2 separate regions of the Homo sapiens genome follow, and region 1 is linked to region 2. The links are contacts of gene promoters, found by promoter capture Hi-C in human tissues and cell types (Jung and others, 2019). All regions are on one chromosome and are shown on one strand. The core of a region is centred on a gene start or on the middle of the fragment in contact, and the rest is flanking DNA. Distances in the headings are between cores, read along the strand shown.

What was found. Contacts are between HindIII fragments. The study calls those that stand out against the background at their distance.
Region 1: a fragment that was not itself captured here is called in contact with the fragment with the promoter of COL6A3 in region 2 in 1 of the 25 tissues and cell types used here (mesenchymal stem cells).

What each region holds. Positions count from the first base shown.
Region 1 is chr2:237,352,265-237,355,146 of GRCh38, forward strand. COL6A3 (collagen type VI alpha 3 chain) reads right to left here. Exons shown (of 44, transcript NM_004369.4): 24 at 2,635-2,670; 25 at 1,077-1,139; 26 at 258-320. Among named protein-coding and RNA genes, the nearest start is that of COL6A3, 60 kb to the right of the region's middle. The HindIII fragment of the contact is 3,760 bases long and covers 1-2,882 here.
Region 2 is chr2:237,412,829-237,415,832 of GRCh38, forward strand. It overlaps COL6A3 (collagen type VI alpha 3 chain), which reads right to left and starts at 1,336. Exons shown (of 44, transcript NM_004369.4): 1 at 1,125-1,336. The HindIII fragment of the contact is 4,662 bases long and covers 1-3,004 here.

The DNA.
Region 1 (2,882 bases), core at 383-2,882, 60 kb before region 2:
CCACCCAGGGACACTTGGAAGGAGCAGAATTGAGACTTAGAGGCCCATGGAGCACCAAAAAAGGAAACTCTTACTTTCTTGGGGTGAAGTAGCCAGTCACTGCAAGGCCTGAGGTTAAATCTGGGGTTTTTGTTGCCAAAGAGGAGAGCTAAAGGGAGGTCTGTCTACAATAGCATCATCCGAGAAACTCTCTCAGCCTGCTTGGCAATGTGCCCTCTGTTCAGCTAGAGAGGGGGCTGGTATTAGGACAGGCTTACCCGAGGTCCAGAAATGCCTTGTTCTCCTATCAGCCCTGGAGGACCAGCAGGACCAGCTGGGCCCTGAGGAAGGAAAAGACCATCGTGAGTGCTAATGAGGTGACTTTCCATGAGAAGCCTCTGCATGGCATCTGCCCATCCCACAGGGCCTGGAACCTCACTTCTGCTGGCCAAAAACGGCCACCAAAACCCACAATTATCCTGTCTTAGCTGCAGTAGCAGCTGCCTCAATCCAGATCGTGAATAGGCAAGTGAGCTTAAAATGTATACAAGCAACAAGCATTCAGACAAAAACGTGTAGGAGAATCTTCACAGAAGCATCATTCACAATTGCCAGAAGATGGCAACAACCTAAATCTCCATCAACCAATGAGTGGATAAACAAAGTGTGCTGTAGCCACACAACAGAGTATCCTTCCATCATGTAAAGGAATGAAGTGCTTCTACATGCTGCAATGTGGATGAAGCTCAAGAACATGATGCTCCGTCAAGCCACACACACAAAGCTGCCTAGTAAATGATTCCATTTATACAAAATATCCATAGTGGGCAAATCCATAAAGAGAGAGAGATTAGTGGTTTCCAGGGACTCGGGGTGGAGGGTGATGGGGAGTGACTGCTAATGGGTACAGGTCTCCTTCGAGACTGTGTTTTGAACCTAGATAGAGGTGATGATTGCACAGCATTGTGGAAGTACCAAATGCCACTGGATTGTTCACTTTAAAATGGTTAACTTTCCGGATATAAATGCCACCCAATCATTTTTTAAATGATTTGTGAAATATCAGAGGGCACACAGTCACACACGGAAGCACTCACCTGTGCACCTCTGGTCCCCTGCTCTCCCTCAAAGCCCGGCTGGCCAGGACCGCCCTTGTTGCCCTTTGAAATAAGAGAAGATGCAGGGAGGAGTCAGGATGGTTCCTGTCAATGTCAGCTCTTTGCTCTACAGTCATTTCTGGGCCAGGGACTTGGAAAGCAACCAGGGAAAACTCAGCTCTTCCAGAGGTAACAGATGATCAAAGCGGTAACCCCAGGTGAGACACTGAGCACAGGAGCCAGCTGTCTCCCTGCACTTCTACAATTGTTCCTCACTCTTGCCTCACCTCTCCTCGGACAGCTTTGTGAAACAGGGATCATTTAGACCTAAAGCAGAGGACCGAGACACCGGGAAGTTGCGGGTTGCTGATGGCCAGATAGGTGAGCACGTTCTGGAAGAGGCGCCCGCCCGGGACACTACTGCCTCAGTCATGTTTCCTGCACTTGGACCCCAAGTCCCCACTGGGCACCATTTTCTCTAGACTCTGCAGAAGAGGCTGTTTAAGGAGACGGCTGACAGAGCCTCGGGAGCCAGAACAGCCCAAGGAGGATGAAAGAAAAATAAATCTCAGAACCCCAAAATCGCTAAGCCAAAGGGAAAAGTCAAGCTGGGAACTGCATCAGACAGAGCTGCCTCCCATTCTATTCTTAAATAAGATAGCTACAAAGAATTTTTTTTTTTTTTTTTGAGATGGAGTTTCACTCTAGTTGCCCAGGCTGGAGTGCAATGGCATGATCTTGGCTCACTGCAACCTCTGCCTCCCGGGTTCAAGTGATTCTCTTGCCTCAGGCTCCTGAGTAGCTGGAATTACAAGCTTACAAGCATGCACCACCACGCCTGGCTATTTTGTATTTTTAGTAGAGACGGGGTTTCTCCATATTGGTCAGGCTAGTCTCGAACTCCCAACCTCAGGTGATCCGCCTGTCTCAGCCTCCCAGAGTGCTGGGATTACAGGCATCAGCCACCGTCCTGGCCAGATTTTTTTTTTTTTAAGCTGAATACCTCCCTCACATTCTGCCCACAGGGAAATTCCTTGTGGACAAAGGACAGACAGAACTGAAAGTCATCCCTCTGCTCATGGGAGACAAAGGCATATCCAATTGCTTCCTTCGCCCTGTTTTTCACTAAGCCTAACTAAGGCATAGGTGACTGTTCTGGTAAACTGTGTATTCAGTGAAAGGCTAATCAGAGACTCAAAAGAATGCAACCTTTTGTCTCTTATCTACCTATGACCTGGAAGCCTCCTCCCCTGCCTCGAGTTGTCCCACCTTTCTGGACCGAACCAATGTACATCTCACACATATTGATTGATGTCTCATGTCTCCCTAAAATGTGTAAAACCAAGCTGTGCCCCGAACACCTTGGGCAGGTGTCATCAGGGCCTTCTGAGGCTGTGTCACGGGCATGTCTTTAACCTTGGCGAAATCAACTTTCTAAATTGATTGGTATCTGTCTCCGAAGCTTTGGGTTCACAGGAGAGAGTGTTTTTCACTCCTGGGCTGGGCGGCATCTGGGCTGTTTGAAGAGAGTCTCCAGGGGGCACTGCATGAGGCTCACCTTAGCTCCGGGGGGTCCCCTTCGGCCAAAGCCACCCTGTGGAAGAAAAAGTCCCACAAACTGTGAGGGGGAGCATGGGACGCTGGGCATGGGGCCTAGAGCTCTTTCAGACTTCACCCTCTTATTCTGCGGTTACTCAGGGGAATCTTCCCAAGCACCCACATCGTGCCAAGAACCAGAAACCACACCTCATCAGCCCTGGGGAAACTCGCACACACAGACACCCTTCCTCCACCCTCATCCGGGTG
Region 2 (3,004 bases), core at 86-2,585:
GGAGAGAAGCCAGTCAGCCGGGGCCACAGCCCTGCCTCCCCATCCAGCACAGCAGACTCCCCTGTGCTCAGAGGGGTTTGCTCCTGGGGTCTGCACCGGCCTCGAAACTGGCTCCTGGGGCTTCCTGTGGAAGCAGATTTTTCTTTAACCACTCCCTAGTCCCTCCCAGTGACCCCACCCATACTTCAATACCCGTTCATTATCCAACATAGTAGGCCCCTTGAAACAGGTTCCCCAAACAGGCTGGCCACTGTCAGCGAACGTGTCCATCCTCAGCAAGAGAGGGCCCGAGCCCCACCCTGCATCCTCCGGGCCAGAGAACAGCCCTCGGGGCCTCCCAGCTCGGCACTGGCCTCACCTCTGTGCAGCATGGGCTGGCCCTGCAGCCCCAGGGGCCCTGCCTTAGACACTCAGCATGCTGCCCAAATGCCCAATTCCTTCTTCTCCTCTGACCCCTGCAACTCCTTTAAGCAACCCCAAGGGACAAAGTCTCCAATAGAGACTTCAGGTTCCTGGAAAGACGAAAGCTTGACGGCAATGACTGAGCGACCCTTTACTTGGCCCTGATCCTGAGCACCAGAGTTACTCCAATCTTGTGAAAGCAGCAAATGTGCTCCACCAGGACCTTCCCATGGGCGGCCCTGGGCAGAAAACCCATGCAGGTTGTTGCACCCTGACCTAGTGTCACCACCCAGAGAGCTCAGAGAACATCTCCCAGCGGAGCCGCCCGGCAGGGAGCTATGCTAGTCCTCAGCAAAGACGCTTCTGCAAACAAAGCGGATCCCGAATGGGTTTTAGAAGGCGGCAGTAACTTAAATAAATCATGGGCCGAAACACACTGCCGCCCGGAATGCACAGGGCGCGTGTAGCAGCCACAGACACGCGGTGGAAAAGTGCTCACACTCTTAGGCAATCATGACCTTAACCAATTTAAGGAAATCCCATTGCCATAAAGTGAGAAAGAAAAATCAGCGGAATCTTCCAGAGACCTAAAACATGTACAGAAAACTGGCGATCAGCATGAACGTAAGAGCCACTAACGCTACCTAGAAAGGATCACTTCAGGTTAAGAGCATTTCCTTCTAGCCCCAAACCTGGAAAAACAGAAGAGAAATCACACTTACCCCTGAGCAAACCTGAAGGCGTGTGTCCCTGGGCTCCTCGATTCAATTAGGTTTGAATAGGATGCATACTTTTCCCACTCACTGCGTCTCTTTTTCTTTTTGCAGCCTTTCTCCACCAAAAAAGTGGAGACTCAGAGCTGCGGAGGAAAACTCTTGCAGTCCTTGCAGGAGGCTGGAGCCCAGGAGAACTGAACGGCCTTTGGTGGAAGACTGAGCTCCAAACTGGACTGGGGCCAGGGATACCAGTCAGGGCTTCCTCCAGCTCCTCCTCCTCCTCCTCCTCCCTCCCGGACCCCTCCTCTCCCCCTCCTCACTGCAGAACTGACCCAAAACTGTAAATGAAACCAGACTCCTCCACTCTGTTTCTTCTGGCCCCCGCTCAGGCTGATGTCACCCTCTGAATTCTGTCTTCACCCTACAAGCGTTTAGCTGGACTCCTGCAAGCCCCAACTCTTAAAAAAAAAAATTGACCACTCCTACTCGTCACCTTTTGGGCTGGGCCCTTGGCGTCAAAAAGAATAAATTTTGGAATTTCTTCGTGGGTATCCATGGTTTTCCTGCAATGTTTTCCAACACCATCTGAAAGGAAAACAGGAAATGCAGTCCCCCGCTTACCCTCACCACACCCTCCCATTTCTTCTTGAAGTTTCTGAATTGAGACTTCTACTAATAACTTCCCCCTTCAAATAGAAAAACCAGCAATTAAAATCGCCTTGGTTTTCTGTTAACCAAAGCTCTGTTCACCGGCAAAAAAAAGGAGGCTACATTTCTCTTAATTTCTATATCTAATGATTCTGATTGTGGCGCTTATAGGCCCATTCTAGGCACAGACGGGGTAATAAAAATGGTTATCTTGCCAAAGCTTCGGGAAAATACTTGAGTAAGAACTTCTGTTTCTAGAAAGCTTTGCACATTTCAAAACACTTCAATATACATTCTCTCCTTTATCACAAACATCAACACCCTAAGCCCTTTTAAATAGAAAGATGTCTTCTTTTATTAGGTGAAATTGTGGTCCCATTTTACAGATGAAAGAAACAGGCTGGGCACGGTGGCTTATGCCTGTAATCTCAGCACTTCGGGAGGCTAAGGCAGGCAGATCACAAGGTCAGGAGTTGGAGACCAGCCTGGCCAACATGGTGAAACCCCTACTAAATCTCTACTAAAAATATAAAAATTAGCCAGGCATGGTGGCAGGCGCTTGTAGTCCCAGCTATTTGGGAGGCTGAGGCAGGACAATTGCTTGAACCCAGGAGGCAGAGGTTGCAGTGAGCCGAGATGGCGCCACTGCACTCTAGCCTGGGCAACAGAGTGAGACTCCAAAAAAGAGAAAAAGGAAAGAAAGAAAAGAAATGAAAAGAAAAGAAGAGAAGAGAAGAGAAGAGAAGAGAAGAGAAGAGAAAAAAGAAAAAAAGAAAAGAAAAGAAGAAAAGAAAAGAAGTTCCGAGAGAGTAAGTGACATCGTCATTGTCCAGTCTGGGTTAGTAACAGAGCTCAAATGACAACCCAGCTTTGGCCATCCCCAAACTTCTCACTGCTCTCCCATCATGTGGTCCTTATGAAAAGTCCATTAATGTGAAATATCAAGAGACATCCGAAAGGTTCTTTTTGACTGAGAGATCCTTCCAAACCAAGTTTGAAGAGCAAAGAAATCATTAACTCCTTTCCATGGATTATCTCCCTCCAATTTAGGGAAGAAAGGAGACAGCACCCCAGAGAGAATGCCTGCTCCCCTCTGCAGCTCCAGGGCTCCCTTCCTCTCCCATAAAGAAGCCCAACCCATCTCTAAACCAAAGGGCTCACTTGCAGAGCACTGGAGTAGGGAACAAGGATGGAACCTGAATTATGGGGTTCTTAGGTGAAGACACGCTGAGCAGAGG